Regions from separate parts of the Homo sapiens genome. Here regions 2 and 3 are each linked to region 1. The links are contacts of gene promoters, found by promoter capture Hi-C in blood cells and fetal thymus (Javierre and others, 2016). All regions are on one chromosome and are shown on one strand. Each heading gives the region's core, a stretch centred on a gene start or on the middle of the fragment in contact. The rest is flanking DNA. Distances are from core to core; before and after follow the strand shown.

Region 1 (2,798 bases), core at 54-2,553:
CTGTTTTTTAACTAGCTCCCCAGAGCACCTGAGCAGCAAATCATGGGCTGTCCTAGCCCCTTTTCAGATGAGAAAGGAGCCCAGAGAGGGGAGAGGGCCTGCCAAGGTGGCACATCTGGCCAGGCGCTGCGTAGGCTGAGCCCTGGGGGTCAGACAGAGGGGCAGCTGCAGGCCCACCTGGGCTTGTGTCTTCCATAGGCCATGCTTGAGAATTCTCTGCTGCGTGAAGCCGGGTCTACCCCGCTGCTTCCCTGCCACCAGGGCTGCCTCGTGGCATCCCATTGCTCAGCCAGTGGCCCAGGATTGTTGACTGAGGGTCCTGTCTGGTCTGGACCAGGCTCGGTCCTATCATCTCCCTGCAGATTGTGCCTCCCTGGCCTGGCCCAGGGGCTCTGGCACCCTGGTTCTGCTGCATGGGGTGACAGTCACTGACCTGCAACCGAGCAAGGGGCAACTCAGGAGAGCCAAGGTTGTCTCCACTCGGTTTCCCCCGAGTGATTCTTCCTTCTATCTCCCTCATTCCCCCAGTGCCGCTCTCCTACCCCATGTCGCTGAAGCAGATGAGTTGGAGCAGGACTCAGGAGGGTACTAGGCCCAGGTTTTAGGCTGAACCTAGGAATGAGTAATGAGAGGAGGCAGATCAGCTGGAGGACCAGCCCGAGTCCCCAGATGTCGGCACAATGCAGGGGAAGGTAGGTGCTGCCCGTGAAAAGCGCTGGGTCGAGAGCTCGCCAGCCTCCCTGCTTGAGGCTTCATTTCCTGGGGTCCTTACACGGTGGGACCGTCTACAGTCGGAGCTGTGGTGGTGATGATTCGTCTCCTACAGGCTGGGGCACGCCCCCTCCCCTTTCCCTCTAGATTCAGATTTGAGTCCCACGGCCCATGGACACGCGATGAATGCCCTGGGGTTGGTTAGCGGGAAAGACAAGTCGACTTGAGGCCATGTCTCGGCTCTGGAGGAAGAAGGCAAACCGGGCAGCCTTCCCAGAAGTGGAGGAGTTTGCGTAGGCCTTCGGTGCGTTCTCGCCTGGGTGGAAGGCGGGGACGTGCATTTGTTGGAGAGCGGTGTCCTGCGCCCTAGGCTGGAAGCCTGGCCTCGGGCAGGGGCCTGGAGCCTCGGGGTTGGAGGTGGGGGGCGGGGCGGGGGGCGGCCCCTACTGGGCGGGCTTCTGTCTGCGCGCCCGCGCCCCCGACAGGCGGCTTATTTGCATGGAGAGCGGCGGCGGCCAATGGGCGCGCGCGGCCGGGCATGCTGGGATCGGGCTGGGCCGGCTGGGCCGTGGCGGCAGGCGGAGAGCGGCTGGACCGGCTCTGGGTGGCCGAGGCGGCAGCTGCGCGGCGGCACCGGGGCGGCTGCGGCGCGCTCGGAGCCCCGAGGGCACGCGGCCCGGGCAGCTCGGTGTGCGCCCCCGCGAGAGCCGGGGCCCCAGGCCCGCCGGACACCATGAACCACCTGGTGAGGGCGCCAGGTGGGGCCGGGCCGCGTACGGGCTTGGAGGCGGCAGCGGGCTGGAAGGGGTTAAGCGAGCGGCATTTCCTGCCGGACCTGCGGGGCCTGGGAACCGCCGGCCGGGGTCCGCGGCCCTGGGATCTCCTTCTGCCCTGGCCGGGAAGCCGGGAGGCAGGAACCGCGGGGGCTCCGGAGCCTGTGCGCCTCGGGTGCGTTGGCGGGGCCGGGCGCGGGGGCCGCCAGCCGGTAGGAGGGTTCCTGTGTCGGGAAAGTGGCTGGCGGGGCCCGCGCTCCCCGGCCGACGGCCGCCTGCTGTGTCACCTTGGGCCTCTGCGCCCTGCCTCCGAGCCTCAGTTTCCTCGGCTGCGAGGAGGGGCCGTTGAGCCTCTGGCGGGTGGTCCGGCTGGTGTGGCGTGGGGACTGCCCACCGGCTCCCGGAGAGGGAGGAGCTCCGGGGGACCGAGGCCGGGCGGGCAAGTGCGTGGCGCCAGCGGGGAAGGCTGCGCAGCCGGAGCACCCGGCTCCAGTTAATGATTCACTCCGGCCGCCGGCGCGGGGTTCCGGGAGCGGAGCGGGAGTGGGGGCGGGCGCGCCGCGGGCTTTGCAGCCCCGCACGCCGAGCGCCGGTGGAAGCCGGGTCCTGGCCACAGGAGTCCTAGCCGCACGCGAGTGTCGCGGGAGGGGGCCAGGGCCGGGTTCTGCAGTGTGGACATGAAGGCTTTGGAGTCCATGGTTGGGGGACCCGCAAGAGCTAGAGCAGGGTCGGAGCTCCCTCTCGAGGGTCCGAGAGGCTGATCGCTGGACCGAGGTGAGGGAGTTGGGAAAGCGGAGATTTGCCTAGGGGTGCGGGGTGAGGGGCTTACGGCCTGGAAGATGTTGGGGTTTCGAGTTCCAGATCGGGGACAGCAGCTCCTTTTCTACCACAAGGCTCCCGTTCCCTCCTGAGAGTCCCTGGTTTCCTTTCCCACACCCCTCCCGGGGCCCGCCGCAGCTTTGGTCACCTTCTCAGAATGACCATGGGTTGATCTCTTCTTTGCTAGTGAGATGTTTCCCATCGCCCTGGGCCGGGACACGCCCCCTCTTGTGCCCATTCCTTTCCCTCGGTGGAGAGTTGGGTGGTGGGGGCTGGCCGGCCTGTGAGAGCAGGTGTCGGGGTGCCTGGAGAATCGGGGCCCAGGTACGGGGGTGGCGGGGCTGTGGGGAAAAGAGCTTTGGGGAGGAGCTGCTGACACTTCCTCCTGGCACTGCTTGCCCGGGAGCTGGGTGGAGGCAGGGCAGGGCAGGGCAGTCCCAGGTTCTGCCAGGAAAGTCACCTTGGGCTGGGGCAGGAGGCTTGGAGCTTCTGGCC
Region 2 (3,024 bases), core at 485-2,984, 310 kb before region 1:
TACCTCCTGGGAAGACAGCTCAGTAGGTCCCAGCCTTATTTTACTTAGCCCCTATTCGAGATGGAGTTGCTTTGGTTCAAACACCTCTGACAAAAGTGCTAAGATGAGCCACTTCACCCAGCCTCAACAGCCTCTTGACTGGTCTCCCTGACTTCTGTTTTTCCTCACCCCTCACTCAATGACCCCATCCTGGTATACTGTAAACCTAAAATAAAATTCTAAGCTCCCAACCATCTGAATGGAACCCTTGTCTCAGCCAAGGGCATTCCAAAGTTAACCTGAAAAACTAGTCTGGCCATCATGGGAAGTGGGGAGTCAGACGTAACTCATTATACCCTCCTCTTTTTGGAATTCAGACCCAGCTGACCAGTATTAGCATCAACACATAGATCTTAAGACTGATATTAATAGAACAGACTCTTAAAGTCTGATAAGAAACATTTACAATCTGTTCTCTCTGAAGCCTGGAGGCTTCATCTGCATGATAAAACATTAGACTCCACAACCCCTTATTGTTTTTTGTTTTTGTTTTTTTTTTGAAATGGAGTCTCACTTTGTCACCCAGGCTGAAGTGCAGTGGTATGATCTCGGCTCACTGCAGCTGCTGCCTCCCGGGTTAAAGCAATTCTCCTGCCTCAGCCTCCCAAGTAGCTGGGATTACAGGTGGACACCGCCAGATGCAGCTAATGTTTTTTTTTTTAATACATATTTTTGGTAGAGACAGGGTTTCACCATGTTGGCCAGGCTGGTCTTGAACTCCTGACCTCAAGTGATCTGCCTGCCTTGGCCTCCCAAAGTGTTGGGATTACAGGCGTGAGCCACTGTGCCCCGCCCACAAACCCACACATTCCTTTCTATTGATTCCAGGTCTTTAGATAATAACCAGTTGACAATTGGAAAAATCTCTGAATCTGCCAATTCTGTGGTCTGGAAGCCCCACCCCACCTCCACTTGTCTCATCTTTCAGTACTGAACCAATGTACATCTTACACGTATTGATTGATGTCTTATGTCTCCCTAAATGTATAAACTCAAGTTATACCCTATCCACCTTGGGCGTATGTCATCAGGACCTCCTGAGGCTGTGTCACAGGCATGTCCTTAACCTTGGCAAAATAAATTTCTACGTTGATTGAGACTTGTCTCAGATACATTTTGGTTTACACTACTGACATGCTGTCATTAGAGTGACTTTTCCAAATCACAAAGCTTATCATGTCTTTCCACTTAAATGTCATTTTACTGACCCTTTAACAAATTTACTTATATTTAAATATTTTGTATTTATTTTTTTAGAGACAAGGTCTCCTTCTGTCTCCCAGCCTGGAGTGCAGTAGTGCATTCATGGCTCACTGCAGCCTCCTGGGCTCAAGCCTTCCTCCTGCCCAGGCCTCCCGAGTAGCTGGACCTACAGGCATGAGCCACTGTGCTCAGCCACTCAGGACCTTTTTGTTGTTGTTGTTGTTGTTTGAGATGGAGTCTCGCTGCCACCCAGGCTGGAGTCCAATGTGTGATCTCCGCTCACTGTAATCTGTGCCTCCCGGGTTCAAGCGATTCTCCTGCCTCAGCCTCCAGAGTAGCTGGGATTACAGGTGCCCATCACCATGCCTGGCTAATTTTTGTATTTTTAGTAGAGATGAGGGTTCACCATGTTGGCCAGGCTGGTCTTGAACCCCTGACCTCAGGTGATCCGCCCACCTTGGCCTCCCAAAGTGTTGGGATTACAGGCGTGAGCCACCGTGCCCAGCCATTCAGGGCCATTTGATGAAGAAATTGGCTGTGGACCATAGATTTTTTTAAAAAGTCCTTCTACCATGTTAGAAATATTGGTTGGGGGTGGTGGCGGGGGGGTGTAGGCATTCAATTAAGCAATAAGCCAGTGATCTTTGGGGAGGACCATATATTCCTGTAAAACTCGCGGCTGAGCTGTACCCAACACAGGGTTAACGAAGTGCATCAGAGCTTTGTAGTAATTCCACTCTATCCGTGGAAGAGCCAGGGGATTTGTGTTTCCGTGTCTGTCTTGCATGGGAGCATAGTGGAAGCAACAGAAAATCTGGGGGCAAAAGCACCTGGCTTTGATCTCAGCCCAGGACCAGGTCCAGGACCACGGCCAGGCTTGTGACTGACTGGACTTCAGTAGGAACCACACTGGGGGTTAACAGATGACACAAAAGCAGGTGTTCGTTCTGTGCGGGAGACGCGCTAGGGGAGAAGAAAAGGCACACACACAGTACCTTTAAGGGTAAGCAAGCTTTATCCCACGTAAATGGCAATGCAGATATTATAATAAGCAAATTAATATAATAAGCAGATTGATATAATAAGCAAATTGCAATGGGAAGAGGAGAAGGAAAAAGACATATATATATATATATTTACACTCACCAGACTATGGAGGATTCACCTCCAGACTGGGAAGCAACGACCTGGGCTCCAGAGCCGGCCACTCGTCAGTGCACAGACGAGGAGAGGTCTCATGAAGCTTTTTGGCGTGGTCTGGGACCCTAGATCTTTTTGTAACATGTTGTCTAGCATGAGGCCCAGTCACGAGGGCCCTTTGCGACTGGGCTCAAGGAACACAAAAAGGTCAACTTGTTTTTGCGATTGTTGTTTTTCAATAACTGACGTATAGGAGTAGACTGAAATAGAGATTTCTCCGAAACAGCGCTGGATGAACGCCTCAAGGGGCTCCCACAACCTGTTTAGGGACTTGGTGACCATTGTTTGTGTCCATGTCAGTTGAAATTTAAATATTTAGTTCTTCCTCCTCAGTGTTCAAGTCAACTTTTATGGGCATCTTATTTTACACAAATGTTAACACAGACAACAGCCACGACTCTGGTCCACGGAAACGTTCTATCGCCGCCCAGCCTTTACGCAAACGTACACAGCTCGAAAAGCTAGGCCGACCGTCCCCGGCAGCGCCACGCCCGCTAACCCCGCCCCCGCCACTGGCTCCTTTCGGTGCGGCCTTGCTATTGGCTCCTTTCTGTGAGCCGTCGGTTGCCGTGGAGACCGAGG
Region 3 (2,883 bases), core at 345-2,844, 320 kb before region 1:
AGACTAGTAACACCTGGATCCCTATGCAAGCTCTGCCCCGTGACTGTACTCTCTGAGATGAGAGGAAGTGCAAATGTGTTAAGACCATGAGTGAAGGGATCAACCAGAAACAGTGGTAAGATGCTCAGTCTGAGACATCTGAGGTCACTAGCCCAGATAGGTAAGTCACAACAGATCCTTAAAAGGGGAACTCATAAACCAAGAGCCAGTGGGGAAGATAAGGAGTCCAAGGCCTCAACCTGAGGAAACAGTGACTGCCCCACTTGCTGCTTTGCTCCTCAAGGGCTGAGTGGAACCTCCATGTAAACATGGACAAATACCACATTTATGAAGGGGGAGGTTTTGAGTTTTTTTCCTGTTCTTCCTGCCCCATTTGCAAGCTTAGCTCGGATGGCTGTGTGGGTAGATGAGAATTATTAAGTAACAATGTGGGGGAGGTCTGAATTTGAATATGAAAGAACCTGTCATCAGCATCTTGTACAATAAAAACGGTGCTCCCTGTGAGGACCTCTTAGCCTGGAATTTGTAAAATAAGGACTCCCTGGAACAGAACTGTTCAATAGAAATCTCTGCTCTGATTGAAATGTCCTGTATCACTGCCACAGCAGCCACTAGCTACATTCAGCACTTGAAAGTCTGGCTCGTGTGAATTGGGATGTGCAGTGTAAAACATAAACAAGGCTTCAGACTTAGTATGAAAATGCAGCAAAATAGCTCAATTTTGATTACATGTTGAAATGATAAAATTATGGATATACTGGGTCAAATAAAATATATTAAGTGGATCACCTGAGGTCGGGAGTTCAAGACCAGCCTGACCAACATAGTGAAACCCTGTCTCTACTAAAAATACAAAAGTAAGCCGGGCGCGGTGGCTCACACCTGTAATCCCAGCAGTTTGGGAGGCCGAGGCGGGTGGATCACAAGGTCAGGAGATTGAGACCATCCTGGCTAACAACGGTGAAACCCCGTCTCTACTAAAAAATACAAAAAATTAGCTGGGCGTGGTGGCGGGCACCTGTGGTCCCAGCTATTCAGGAGGCTGAGGCAGGAGAATGGCGTGAGCCTGGGAGGCGGAGCTTGCAGTGAGCCGAGATCGTGCCACTGCACTCCAGCCTGGGCGACAGAGCGAGACTCTGTCAAAAAAAGTATCCAGGCATGGTAGTGCACGCCTGTCATCCCAGCTACTCGGGAAGCTGAGGCCGGAGAATCGCTTTAACCTGGGAGGTGGAGGTTGCAGTGAGCCAAGATCGTGCCATTGTACTGCAGCCTGGGCAACAAGAGCAAAACTCTGTCTCAAAAAAAAAAAAATTAATTTCAACTGTTTTTATTTTTTTAATGTGGCTACTAGAAAATTCTTAAATTACATATGTGGCTTGCATCCATTTCTACTGACAGCACTGCCCCAGAACAAGACTTAGGGGGCAGTGGGTAGAGGGAGGAACAACGCCTGCAGCCGTGGGTCTCAGCCTTGGCTGCACATCAGAATCTTACTTTAAAGAGAGCTTTAAAAACATCTCTGTGCCCAAGCCCTACCCCAGACCAATGAAATCATCACTATGTTTTGTTTTGTTTTGTAAAGACAGAGTCTTGCTCTGTCGCTTGGGCTGGAGTACAGTAGCAGGATCTCGGTTCACTGCAACCTCCACCTTCCGGTTCAAACAAGTCTCATGTCTTAGCCTCCCAAGTAGCTGGGATTACAGGTGCATGCCACCACGCCTGGCTAATTTGTTTTTGTTTTTGTTTTTAGTAGAGGTGGGATTTCACCATGTTGGCCAGGCTGGTCTTGAACTCCTGACCTCAGGTGAGCCACCGTGTCCGGCCTCATCAGTATATTTTTAAATGCCAAAAATGATTCCATATGCAGCCAGGTTGCAAAGGGAAATGCCTGACCTTTTGTTGGGGGGGAGAAGGGAGGGTCATCTTTAAAAGCTATGTGATTAGGAAGTAGAGTGACAAGCCAGGAAGTGAAATGACAAGCCAGAAACTAGCAGAAGGGCTTGAACATGTAGCTGAGTCTCCCAAGATTTTTACCCTGGTGGTTGAGAATGCCCAGAGAGTAACCCCATTTTTCTCTGAAACTCCTCAGAATGAGGCTAATGGGAAAACAACTACAGCTACTGCCACAACTCTTTACCCCATTTGTCCAAGTGTCCAGGGTGATCTTGATGACAACTGTCGTAACATCTCCCCGCTGCCACTACCAGATGGGTTTAGATGCAGTAGCAGACATTGTGTGCAATTCAGAGTCGCCCCATAGTGTCTCTGTCAAGTTTGGTTCCAAACAGACTAAGTTCTGCTCTTTTCCTAGCAAGTTAGAAGCCCTAGTACAATGATTCTAAATCCCGCTGCTACATTAGAAACATTTGAAGAGCTTCGTAAACACCAGCAGCCCACCCCCGGGCCTGTGTATGCTATCCAGGGTGAACAATAACCACTGGACCGCTACTGTTGAAGGCAGGTCGTGAGACTCTGAGCCCTGACTCTTGGCAGGACAGGAGGCCCACAATCATGTGGCTTTCATTCCTTTCTGGCTTTAGATTCCATTGTCTTTTAAGTAAAACTTGGGTTCATTAATTTGTTTAAGCAGTGCCCTAGTAGCTACAGAAGCTGATAGTAAAAATCCTAACTATAATGGCAACACATGTGCCAAGCACTGCTTATACATTACATGTATTAACTCTTTATCCTCAAAACAATCTCATGAGGTAGATGGTACCATAATCCATAGTTCCTAGATAGGAAAACTGAGGCACAGAGATTCTAAATTCACTCCAGGTCACAAAACTAGGAGACCACCAAGCTTTGCTGCCTCCAAGTGATTAGACAGCTAGATCTGCTCTGATGACCTAACATTAGAGTCCTTGTACCTTCTGCAGAGAT

What was found. Contacts are between HindIII fragments. The CHiCAGO score rates a contact against its expected background, and 5 or more counts as called.
Region 2: a fragment that was not itself captured here is called in contact with the fragment with the promoter of BCAR1 in region 1 in 1 of 17 cell types (M2 macrophages); the score reaches 6.2 in M2 macrophages.
Region 3: a contact is called between a fragment that was not itself captured here and the fragment with the promoter of BCAR1 in region 1, in 1 of 17 cell types (M2 macrophages). The highest score is 5.3, in M2 macrophages.

What each region holds. Positions count from the first base shown.
Region 1 is chr16:75,250,129-75,252,926 of GRCh38, reverse strand. It overlaps BCAR1 (BCAR1 scaffold protein, Cas family member), which reads left to right and starts at 1,303. Exons shown (of 7, transcript NM_014567.5): 1 at 1,303-1,456. The coding sequence starts at 1,445. RefSeq lists enhancers at 1-10, 551-1,091 and silencers at 1,091-1,200, 1,261-1,420. The HindIII fragment of the contact is 27,287 bases long and covers 1-2,798 here.
Region 2 is chr16:75,556,274-75,559,297 of GRCh38, reverse strand. It overlaps a transcript of TMEM231 not described here. Among named protein-coding and RNA genes, the nearest start is that of TMEM231, 1.5 kb to the right of the region's middle. RefSeq lists enhancers at 2,616-2,725, 2,756-2,835 and a silencer at 2,876-2,985. The HindIII fragment of the contact is 1,045 bases long and covers 1,212-2,256 here.
Region 3 is chr16:75,573,728-75,576,610 of GRCh38, reverse strand. All of the region lies in intron 3 of GABARAPL2 (GABA type A receptor associated protein like 2), which reads right to left. Among named protein-coding and RNA genes, the nearest start is that of GABARAPL2, 8.8 kb to the right of the region's middle. RefSeq lists a silencer at 88-167. The HindIII fragment of the contact is 2,423 bases long and covers 383-2,805 here.